Regions from separate parts of the Homo sapiens genome. Here region 1 is linked to region 2. The links are contacts of gene promoters, found by promoter capture Hi-C in blood cells and fetal thymus (Javierre and others, 2016). All regions are on one chromosome and are shown on one strand. The core of a region is centred on a gene start or on the middle of the fragment in contact, and the rest is flanking DNA. Distances in the headings are between cores, read along the strand shown.

Region 1 (6,003 bases), core at 2,628-5,127, 650 kb after region 2:
TCAAGTTGACAAAGGGTGGACTTGTGATGGTTAATACTGAGCAACAATTTGATTGGATTGAAGGATACAAGGTATTGCTCCTGGGTGTGTCTGTGAGGGTGTTGCCAAAAGAGATTAACATTTGAGTCAGTGGGCTGGGGACGGCAGATCCACCCTTAATGTAGTGGACACAATCTAATCAGCTGCCAGGGAATATAAAGCAGGCAGAAAAACATGAAAAGGAAAGATCTAGCCTCCCAGCCTACATCTTTCTCCTGGGCTGGATGCTTCCTGCCCTCCAACATAGGACTCCAAGTTCTTCAGTTTTGGGACTCGGACTGGTTCTCCGTGCTCTTCAGCTTGCAGACACCCGATTGTGGAACTTTGTGATCACGTAAGTTAATACTTAGTAAACTCTCCATACATGTATATATATGTTAATATATATCCTATTAGTTCTGTCTCTCTAGAGAACCCTAATACAGTACTCATAAAAAACACTGCGTACCTGATCTGTTCCCTTCATTTATTCATTCTGAGGATTAGTTTCAGATCCATGGCATTCCTAAACATATTCTTGGAGATTTCTAAAAATCAAAATTCCTAATAAAAATCAGATTGCTACCCTCTGAGGATGAATAGCCTTCCTGTTTCCATAGGTTAGGCCTCAATTTCCAAAACCTCCAAAAGCAGCACCTACTATCTATCTCAACAAGAGTTATCTTCAACACCTCTCTACTTCTGCTACTCACCTCAGTACTGAAAAGAAGAATGTAGTCTTCAGCTTTTCAAGTGAATGAATCATTTTGATATGGAATTGTATCTAAAACTTAATGTTAAGTGAAGGAGTATCGAAATGAACAGAATGCTTTCATTGACTCAGGTCTTTTCTTTCTATACTGATTTAAAAACACACCCCACTTAAGCATAATTTGCATAATTAATTTTCAAGCAAATATACTTGACTACTAGAATTCTGATTCACTTTTCTTTCTTCTTTCTTTAGCCTATAACTTACGATGATACATTTGTAGATAAAATACATATTATTCAGAATTATCTTCCAGTAATAAATTACTGGCAGTGGAAAAACAATAGATGCCCCATCAGGGAAAATAGAAGTTTGAAAAAAATAGGTTTAACCATAATAAATTGCCTTTGTACAACAAATACAGCACTGAAGGAATATAACAATCAATCTAAAAATTAAATCTATGCACACATAATTTTTGTACAATGGTGAGGGTAAAATTAAATTATATTTAGTCATTATATTCAAAACAGCAATTCCATTACTATCTACCAAAAAGAAAATAAATCATTACAATATATAAAGACACATGCACACGTATGTTCATTGCAACACTATTCACAATAGCAATGACATGGAATCAACCTAAATGTCCATCACAAATAGACCGGATAAAGAAAATGTGGTACATACACACCATGGAATACTATGCAGCTGTAAAAAAGAATGAGATCATGTCGTCTGCAGAAACATGGATGGAGCTGGAGACCATTATCCTTAGCAAACTAACCCAGGAACAGAAACCAAATTCCACATGTTCTCACTTTTAAGTGGGAGCTAAATGGTGAGAACACATGGACACATAGAGGGGAACAATACATACTGGGGCGTATCATGGGTGGAGGGTGGGAGGAGGAAGAGAATCCAGAAAAATAACTAATGGCTACTAGGCTTAATACCTGGGTGATGAAATAATCTGTGCAACAAACCCCCATGACACAAGTTTACCTACGTAACAAACCTGAACATGTACCCCAGAATTTAAAACAAAACTTAGATAAATAAACAAATACATTTATTAAAAGTAGTTCAGGATTTGCTAGCAATTCTCCCACATTTCACCCCACCCATAACATTACATATGATCAAGGACTATATTATTACTAAGCTGGTTTTGTTATTTTATTCTGTCTTCTTTTTCCTCCTTCAGTGTGTATCTGATATTCATTTCAAGTATGCTTGAGTTTATTTGCTTTCATTTTCTTTCAGTTTTAGGACTTCCATGTTTCTCATTGTTATAGATTTTATGTTTTGAATATGAAGAATATTAACATGCTTCACAAGTCAAAAATGCACAAGAAGATACATGCAAGAAGGGATATTCCCTGCCCTATACCTTTTACTTCTTCCCACTTTTCACCTATTGTAGCTAATACACTAAAATGTTTTTTACTTTTATTTTCTGTGTTTTCATTTGTAGGCTAGCAGATATGCTTTCTCTATTTTCCTTTTCTTTCTATACAAGAGGTTGTACTCTATATTTTTTAGTAGTTAGCTTTTTTCACTTAGCAATATTTCTTTGAAACGCTATATACAGATCTACCGCATTCTTTTCTTACATTTGCATAATGCTTCCATTGTGTAGATGTACAAAAGCTTATTCAATCAATTTTCTATGCCTGAATATTGAAGTTATTTTGCAATATTTAGCAATTATAAATAGTGCTATGATGAATAATTTTCTACATCTTTTTTGTACTGTCAGAGATCTATTTTCTGGTTATCAGCAAATTATTGGGTCGATGTTTAGTTAGTTTTGTTAGATATAACCCAAATTTCCAAAATGGGGTTGCATCATTTGTATTATCATGAATAATATGTGAGAATGCCTGTTTCTCCACATTCCCATCAACAGAATGCCCTGTCAAGGTTTTGCATTTTTGCCAGTTTCATGAGAAGTGGTATCTTAAGGTTGTTTTAATTTGCATTTATCTTATTATTGTGAAATTCACCATTAAAAATATATCTAATAACGATTTTCATATCTCTATATGAATTGCTCTAATATCTTTTGCAATTTTCCATAGATTTTAAAAATCTTTAGTCAATGTTTAATCTTTTTATATATTAAGGATGTTAGCCTTTCACCTATAATGTATGCCACACATATTTTTTCTCCATTATTTTTAACTGCTCATGGTGTTTTCCCCTGTATTTTACTTTAATTTTATGTAGTCAAACAGATTATATTTCTATTGCACATAGATTTTAAGTCTTGGTTAGAAGGCCATTCCCTACTCTGAGATTACAGAAAAAAAATCCATTTTTTCCTAGTATTTGTAATTGCCACATTTCCAGTTTTACATTTAGATCTCTGAACCATTTTTTTTCCTGTGGTTAACATGAGGAATGAATCTAATTTTGATTCTGGCAAATAACTATACAGTTGTTCTAACTCCATATATTTAAAAAACTATCTTTGCCCTAGTAATTTGCAATAGTGATTTTATCATATGTTAAATTTCTATATGTAGTAGGACCTATTTCTAGGTTTGTCTTCTATCTCCCTCCCCTCACTTCCTGGTCTCTTTCCTTCTTCTCTCCTTTCAAACAGGCTCCAATGCCTCATTATTCTATTATACTCTCAGCAGTAATTTTAAAATTTAATACAGCAAATCCTGCCTCCTAACTATTTCTGCTCAGTATTTTTCTAGTTGATATTACGTATTTACTTTTTCATGATTTAGGATCATGTGTCTAGCTTGACCAAAAAGCTTGCAGTTTTCATTGCTTTTGTATTAAATGTATAAAAATAACTTTAGAACTGACCATTTCATGAGACTTTCTAACTTAGAACATAGATTACATTTCAATTTATGCAAGTATACTTTTCCATTAAAATTTGTTATTATAAGGTCATTTTAGTTTCACATGTAGTTTTAAGAAATAATACTAAGAGGTTCTTGGTACAGTTTACTAGTTTCTCACAATGGTAACATTTTGCAAAACTTTAGTACAATATCACAAACAGCAATTGACATTGATAAAATTCACAATCTTATTCCAATTTCCCCAGTTTTACTTTCACTTATTTGTGTGTGTGAATTTATTTCTGTATAATTTTATCACATGTGAAGGTTTATCCACCACTGTAGCAAAGATAATAAACAGTTCCATCACCAAAAGGACCTCTTATGTTGCCCTTTTATAGCAACCACTTCCTTTCCACTGCTTATCCTTTATCGCTGGCAACCACCAATCTGTTTCCTTTCCTAACATTTTATTATCTCAACAATGTTTTATAAGTGGATCATACAACTTGTAATATTATAGTATTACCTTTTATTACTCAGCATGGTTTCTTTGAGATTATCAAAATTGTTATGTATATCAATAGTTTACTTCTTTTTATTTCAAGTAGCATACGATGCTATGTATGTTTCACAGTTCATTTAACCATTCACCTATTGAAGGACTTCTGGGATGCTTTCACTTTTTGAAAATTATGAAGAAAGCTTCTATCTACGAGCTTTCATGTACAAGTTTGTAATATATATGTGTATATATACAAATGACATATATGTGTATATATACAAATGACATATATGTGTATATATACAAATGACATATATGTGTATATATACAAATGACATATATGTGTATATATACATATGACATATATGTGTATATATACATGACATATATGTGTATATATACATATGACATATATGTTTATATACCCATATATACATATGTGTATATATACATATATACATCTATGGCATATATGTGCATACATATATGGCATATATGTGCATACATATATGTACATATACATATATGGGACATGTATGCACATATACCTATCTGGGGCATGTATGTGTATACATGTATACATGTATGGGACATTTATGTATGCACGTGTATACATATATGTATGCACATATATGGCATATATGTATATATAGCTATATGGGACATATATGTATATATAGATATATGGGACATATTGTATATATAGATATATGGGACATATTGCATATATATGTATATACATATATGCATATATGAAATATATATGTATATATATGTATCTTCATTCCTGTGGGATTAACACCCAAGAGTAGAAGTGTCGGATTGTATAATAATTGCATGTTGAGTTTTATAAGAACCTGATGAACCTGTTTTCCAGAGGCACCGTACCATTTTACATTCCCACTAGCAATGCATAAGCAATCCAGTTTTTCTTTATCCTGATTTAAAAAAAAAAATAGTCATTCTGATAGCCCGTGACAGTTTAAATTTACATTTATTTAATGGCTAGTCATTTTGAACATATTTTCATGTGTTTATTTGCCATGTGTATATCCTCTCTAGTGAAATATCTATCCATGTCTTATGATCCTTTTAAAATTGGATGTTTATCTTTTTTTTGCAGATTCTTTGGGAATTTCTACATAGACAAAATGTCATCTGCAACTAGAGATTGTTTTCTTTCTTCTTTTCCGATCTCTATACCTTTTATTATTTTTCCTTCTCTTATTATAGAAGCTAGAACTTCCAGTACCTTTTTATTGAGTAAGAAAGATGAAAATGGACATTCTTACCTTGTTCCCTACTATTTGGAAAAGCATTTAGTCTTTATTAAGTCTGATGTTACCTGTAGATTTTTTGTAGATGGTCTTCAGCAGGTTAAGATAATTTGTCTATTTTTGACTTACTGAAAATTTTAAATAAAATGATTATAAATAAGAGCTGAATTTCGACAAATGCTTTTGCTGCATCTTTTCCCTGTTAACATAGTTGATTCTATTAATTTTCAAATATTGAACTAAGCTTGCATACCTGGAGTAAATGTCCTTTGTTGTGTTATCCCATACTTTTTATACATTGTTAGATTTGTTTTCATATTTTGTTAAAGATTTTATATCTAGGCTCATAAGAGTCACTGGTCATAAGAAATAGTGTAATTTTTTTTGTGTGTACTGTTTTTATATTTTCTTTGTTGTATTAATTGACGTCAGGGGTTCAACACCAGCCTGGCCAATATGGTGAAACCCCGTATCTACTAAAAATACAAAAATTAGCCAGGCAGGATTGCAGGTTCCTGTAATTCCAGCTACTCAGGAGGTTGAGATGGGAGAATCGCTTGAACCCGGGAGGTGGAGGTTGCAGTGAGCTGAGATCGTGCCATTGCCCTCCAGCCTGGGCTACTGAGCGAACTCTGTCTCAAAAACAAAACAAAACAAAACAAAAATTAACCTCATAAGATA
Region 2 (6,152 bases), core at 2,946-5,445:
AATTCCTAAAACTTTTAGCGATCATGTAAAGTAGTCTTCCTAAACTTAGGCCACCACGTGGTGAAAATTTCCAAGCCACAGGAAGAAACTATAAATAGGTGCTTTGTCTTTCCCTTGTGTCTTCCCTTCTGTCTTCCCCTTGTGAGGTTGTTTCTCTCCTAACACATTTTTATGTCCTCATCTCTAAATTCTACTGATACCCTGAGTCATGACATTGAGTATCAGTGGACTTTAGAGAACATAGATAATTATATATAATCTAATATACATATACACATATATAATTCTACTACATATTAATATGTAATATTATATGTTTTATATGTATATATGTACATATCTACATTTACATACCCACATGGTAGCACATTGTTAGAACAATCGTCTTTAGCATGCATATGGGAAACAGGAGGTAATAGGAATACATTTGTTAAAGTTGAATAAAACCAAAATTTAAATTTACTCCAAATCTCCTTCTTTAGAGAATGCAATTTATTGGTTTCATTCTGTGATATAATATATATACATCCTATATATGTAATACCTAATATGTATTTGCACATATTTATATATGTAAGTACTTAAATACATAAATATTACATATATCTACATATACATATTACATATGTAAATATAGAGTATGTAAATATGTATATAAACATATGCAATATAGTTATATATGTAATGTTATGCATAATATTTTGCATATATAAGATGTGTGTGTATATATATATATTTCAGGATGTAACCAATAAATTGCATTCTCTAAAGAAGGAGATTTGGAGTAAAATTAAATTTTGGTTTTATTCAACTTCTAACAAATTTATTCCTATTGCCTCCTGTTTCTCATATACATGCTAAAGATGATTATTCTAACAAAGTGCCACTGTGTAGGTTGATGAGATAATGTGTAAGTTTGGAGAACCATGTTGGACTCACAGTGGAATTCATAGAAAGACATTGATTTCCTAAATCCCCATGTTCTTCAAATGAAACTGAACATATGTGGTGAAATTTTATTGTTGGAGCCAACATTATAGTTGTATCAATGAGCCTGGAATGAAATTTAAGAGTTTTAGAGAAAATTCAAAACTGAAATTTCACTTTGTTATATGTATTCAAAGAAAAGTGTAAAGGTTGAGGCTAAACCTCCCTAATCTTTACCCTCAATGGAGTGACTGTCACTTCTGGATGAAACATATATTCAATAAACACAAACAACAATAAAAATAAGCAAAAACAAGAGAAGTTAAAAGATGAAGCTTACATGGCAATAAACAGCATCAGGAATCCAAAATATGGCTGTTTCCAAACTGAGTACTATTGACTATCTTGCATTATATTTCTAAACTCAGAAACTCATTTGCTCAATGAGGGAGCATTATTATCCATGACATGAAGTTATCAAAGTGTTGCCTAAGATAATGCATTTGAAGAACGTTGCACAGTTCTTGTTGCAATATGCTAAAGATTTTACGGTTTAAAATTGCTGATACAAATGCGCACATTGTATCAGGATACATACAGGATACAGGATAGTAGAATTGCATGAGCAACAGACATTCAGAATCTGACATTTTATATTTTCATTTAGGGCGATATTGATCATTCACAGCACTCACTGGCATCATTGATCCCCCCATTTTTTTTGCAGGTGTGGGGAAACTGTCAACACCCTCGCCTCTGCAGGAGGTATGGCCATGTAACGCATTGGGCCAAATGACTGGGACAGGCAGCAAAACCAGTGTGCACTTTTCCGTGTTCTCTTCATTTGGGTAACCAGTTCCTGCCTGTGGAAATTTACCTTCCAATACTCAAAATAAATGAATATCATTTTCTGAAAGTTAAAACTCCTTTATGACTTCCTTTGTTTTCAAATGTACATTAGGATTTCATTTCACCTGAGTGCTTTATCCTTTAATTGTGATGACCCTTGAAGTCATAATGTATATTCAAATCTTTATTTCAAATATATATTTTACATTACTCATTATTAACTCTTATTGTCAAAATGAAGACTTGGGTTGCTTTTTAAATATTATCAATTGTTCATTTGCTTGTGAGCTCAAGGGTCTCTTTCCACAGCAGATGCCAAAACAGTCAGGTAAGGCATGCAGGGGGATACTTTGGGTTATTTCCATATTCACAAAAGAACTCATAAACGTGATGTGTTCAGCTCTAAGATGAAATAGTCGCTTAGGCTTTGAGGTGGGTGCTCCCATCACCTTTTCCAACTGGCATTTTTTTGGTCAACGCTTAAAATCATGTTTCAGTGTGACTGGCTTCTTATCTTGCATTTTATTTTTCAAGGATATACAGTACAGAGAGCCCTGCTTACGATCTGAATTTGAAAGATACTATAAACTAGAAGTAAACCTTTGTTATATTATCCTACTAAGAATTTGGGATTACTGATTATTGCAATATAAGCTACCAGATAACGGCTGTTACTATTGGCCATCAAAATAAATCTTTCAGATACATGACACCATCACAAAACAAGACAATACTATTAACTCCTCAAAGGCCTTAATGGATGTATGGAGAAGAAGTTGATAATAAATTGGAATATAGGGTGTGAGCCACTTAAAACAGATAATAAAATAAATGTATCCCCAAAGCACTTGAATGCATTTTTAGTAAAATCGTGGGCTGATAAGTATGATGTATCTAGAGCTTTTCTTTAACATAAAAGGGAAGCTATGTAAAGTGTTACTAATCCCCTCATCTATGACCTGACAAATCCACTCATCTTTTCACAGTATGCATTTCACTCATATTCTTATGGTCCTCCAAAAACATACATTTCTCATATTTAACTTTGAATGAATGCACAACTGAATGTTTTCATTTCTTCTATAATACTAAATATGGCTTTTGAAAATTAATTGACACCATTTTTATTTTGGACTTACCAAAAGTTGAAGAGTGGATGAATATAGAACAGAACTTTAACACAAAATACTTTTAAAGATAATATTTTAGGCTTTATGATTTTTTTTAGTGAGTCATTAACTTGAAAACATGTACTATTAGAATTGTCTTCTTCATAACACCAGATTTTTTTACCCAATGGCATATTAAAATTATTCAAAAACTTTTGAAAGGAAATATCGATTTTGATACATGATGCATTTTAGTAGCCTTATTTATTAAATTTACACCAATTTTATCTAATAACCACAATCAATTATTACAACTTATTCCTGAAAACATGAATATCACAAAACAGCCTAGGGTGAGCCTCTCGGGTTTCTTACACATTTTCTGAATAAAAAATTCTCTTCATGATTTTCTTGATGGCCACCTTTATTTGCTTATTTCTAAGACTGTAAATAATAGGGTTAAAGAGGGGAGGCATTATGGAATAAAAACCAGAAAGGATCAGATCCTGGGTGGCTGCAGGTATCGCAGGTGGCCTGAGGTACACAGAAGAGCATGAACTGAGGAAGACTGACACCACCAGGATGTGAGGGATGCAGGTGGAAAAGGCCTTTGTTCTGTCTGCTCCTCTTGGAAACCCGAGCACGGTCGAAAAGATGTGAATGTAAGACCTGATGATAAAGATGAAACAGCCGCCACCTACCCCCAGAGCAGAGACAACAATCATGACCTCATTGCTGAAGGTGTCAGAGCAAGAGAGCTTCAGCAGAGAGGGGATGTCACAGAAGAATTGATGAATAACGTTGGACCGACAGAAGGGCAGCTGGAATGTGCTGCCAGTGTGCATGCCTGCATAGACAAGACCACTGAGTAGGGAGGCCAGTGTCATCTGGATGCAGATTCGAGAGTTCACGATCACAGGGTAGTGAAGTGGCTGGCAGACAGCCACATAGCGGTCATGAGCCATAATGGTGAGAAACAGAAGCTCCACATATACAAAAAAAACCACGAGGAAGACCTGAGCTACACATCCCGCCTTAGAAATGGTGGTGCTGTCCAGTAGGGAATTGACACATGAGGTAGGGACTGTAACAGAAATGTAGCAGGCATCCAAGATAGACAGATTCCTGAGGAAGAAGTACATGGGCATGTGAAGGCTGCTGTCACAGGTGGTGACGGTCACAATGAGGATGTTTCCCATTAGAGTTACCAAATACAACATAAAGAAGGATGCAGAATGTAAAATCTGTAGTGTCCACACATCAGAAAACCTCATGAGGAGAAATTCCATCACGGTGGTTGAATTGGGCATCGGTGGATGATGAAGCTTGGACCTGGGAAACAGAAATCCTGAACACTCACGAAGAATCAAATGATGGAAAGATGGTTCTTAAATATCGTAGTCTTGATCCCTTTCTAGTTGTAATCTACATTGTTGGTCCTTACATTTTTGAAGGCAACTCAAGTGGTCCTCTATGAACCTACATAATATTCTTTATATTCAAATTGGGCAGATGCTTTGTTGTTGTTTCTGTTGTTTAGAAGTTGTTCAAAATTAAATTTTATGCAACTTAGTGTCCTCCATGGGTCAGATAAAGTTATTTACTTATATTTGATATTAAATAAATATTTTAATAAGTTATTTCACTCAAATATACTTATCGCTAATTATTTATCAATACAGATTCTGATACAGAGAACAAAACTGTTCACCCACATCATGAAGATATTGTCTTTATATGCTTAAGAATTGAATGAACAAATGTATGTTCTGGATAGTTTCTTGAGGTTCTTTAGATAGAGGGGAAATACACAATAATTTGTAGTGATTAAAATCCTAGCTTTGATTTTTAGTTAGCTACTTCAAAATACTGGTCTCCATCATAGTGTGAAATGGGCATTTTAGTTACAGGCTTAGTCTCCATTCCTTTATAGAACTCTAAAAAATGTTCTTTCTGTCATAGTGCTTCATCAGGATGAGATAAGATTTATAAAATCCTTAGGAAATTGTCTAGGACATCATGAATGTTCCTTAACTGTCTCTTGTTATTATTTTCAGAAACATCGATATTGTTATTGGTATGTAGGAATATTTTGAGGGCACATACTACTACCAGACATGTTCTAGATAAAATTCACATATCAATTTAAGACTCTCAATAATCCTGAAAGTTAGTATTTTATTCCCTTTTCACAGGAAGCAAAAACCTGTCCAGATTGAACAGCTACTCTTTCACCACAGTCATCCACCTCGTGTGCTTATTCTGTACCAGTTGCATTCAGCAGATAACTTGGAGACTGTGCCCAGTTGAATGACTCTGTCAGTTTTCAAATAACAGGATCAGGAAAAATAACTAGTGGCTACTAGGATTAATACCTGGGTGATGAAATAATCTGTACAACAAACACCCGTGACACAAGTTTACCTATATAACAAACCTGCACATGTACCTCTGCACTTAAAATAAAGGCTAATTTTTAAAAAAAGGGGGAAAAAAGAATGGCTTCATATTTTCATGATGATGAGCTAATGATAATTTTTCCTTATACTTTTATGTTGATGATCCAATTAGAATTTTACCATCTATAAGTTTCATGTATTATTGTATTAGGTAAATACAGTATGTGTCCAAAATATTTTTAAGCAGGACAAATTATCACATGGAAGGTTCAGCAGAACCTTCACTGTAGAAGAGGGAGACAGGAGGCTTGGGCTGTATCACTCCCACTTACCAGCCATGTAAAGTTGGCAACATTCTTCACCCAAGGAAAATTCCCTCCATCTGTAAAAGCAGAATCATGGTGTGTACTACTGTGATCAATTTAAACAATATGGGCTCATTCAGTGACGTAGTCCTTGATTCACTGATTGTTCAATCAATATATACACCTAATGCTGCTATCACAGGAGTTTTGTGAATAAATGAAACAGAATAAGTGCCTAAATCTCATGAAATTTAAATTTTATTAGAAAAGACTGACACTGAACTGTTAAACATGTGAGAAAGAATAAAATATTCCAGAAAGTTTTAAGTGCTTTGACAAAAACTCACAAGGTAATATGCTGGATGAGAAAGGGTGTGTGTGGCTGAGGGAAGAACGGGAGTTGATTAGTTAAGTGGAAGTGCTTGGAAGCCAGCAAACTGCTATGAAAATATAACACATATTGTCACTCTCATTCCAAACTAAGGTTTTCTGTTTGCTTTATGTAAAGAGAAGCACACTGTGTATCTGTTGAGTTGATTTAATAAATTATACTAAACTTGGTA

Evidence for each region. The method cuts DNA at HindIII sites, captures the fragments that hold promoters and counts their contacts. A CHiCAGO score of 5 or more calls a contact.
Region 1: a fragment that was not itself captured here is called in contact with the fragment with the promoter of OR14C36 in region 2 in 1 of 17 cell types (M2 macrophages); the score reaches 6.9 in M2 macrophages.

The regions. Positions count from the first base shown.
Region 1 is chr1:247,699,482-247,705,484 of GRCh38, reverse strand. No RefSeq gene overlaps it. Among named protein-coding and RNA genes, the nearest start is that of OR6F1, 14 kb to the left of the region's middle. The HindIII fragment of the contact is 741 bases long and covers 3,507-4,247 here.
Region 2 is chr1:248,346,818-248,352,969 of GRCh38, reverse strand. OR14C36 (olfactory receptor family 14 subfamily C member 36) reads right to left here and starts at 4,195. Exons shown (of 1, transcript NM_001001918.1): 1 at 3,257-4,195. The coding sequence starts at 4,195. The coding sequence ends at 3,257. The HindIII fragment of the contact is 2,948 bases long and covers 1,265-4,212 here.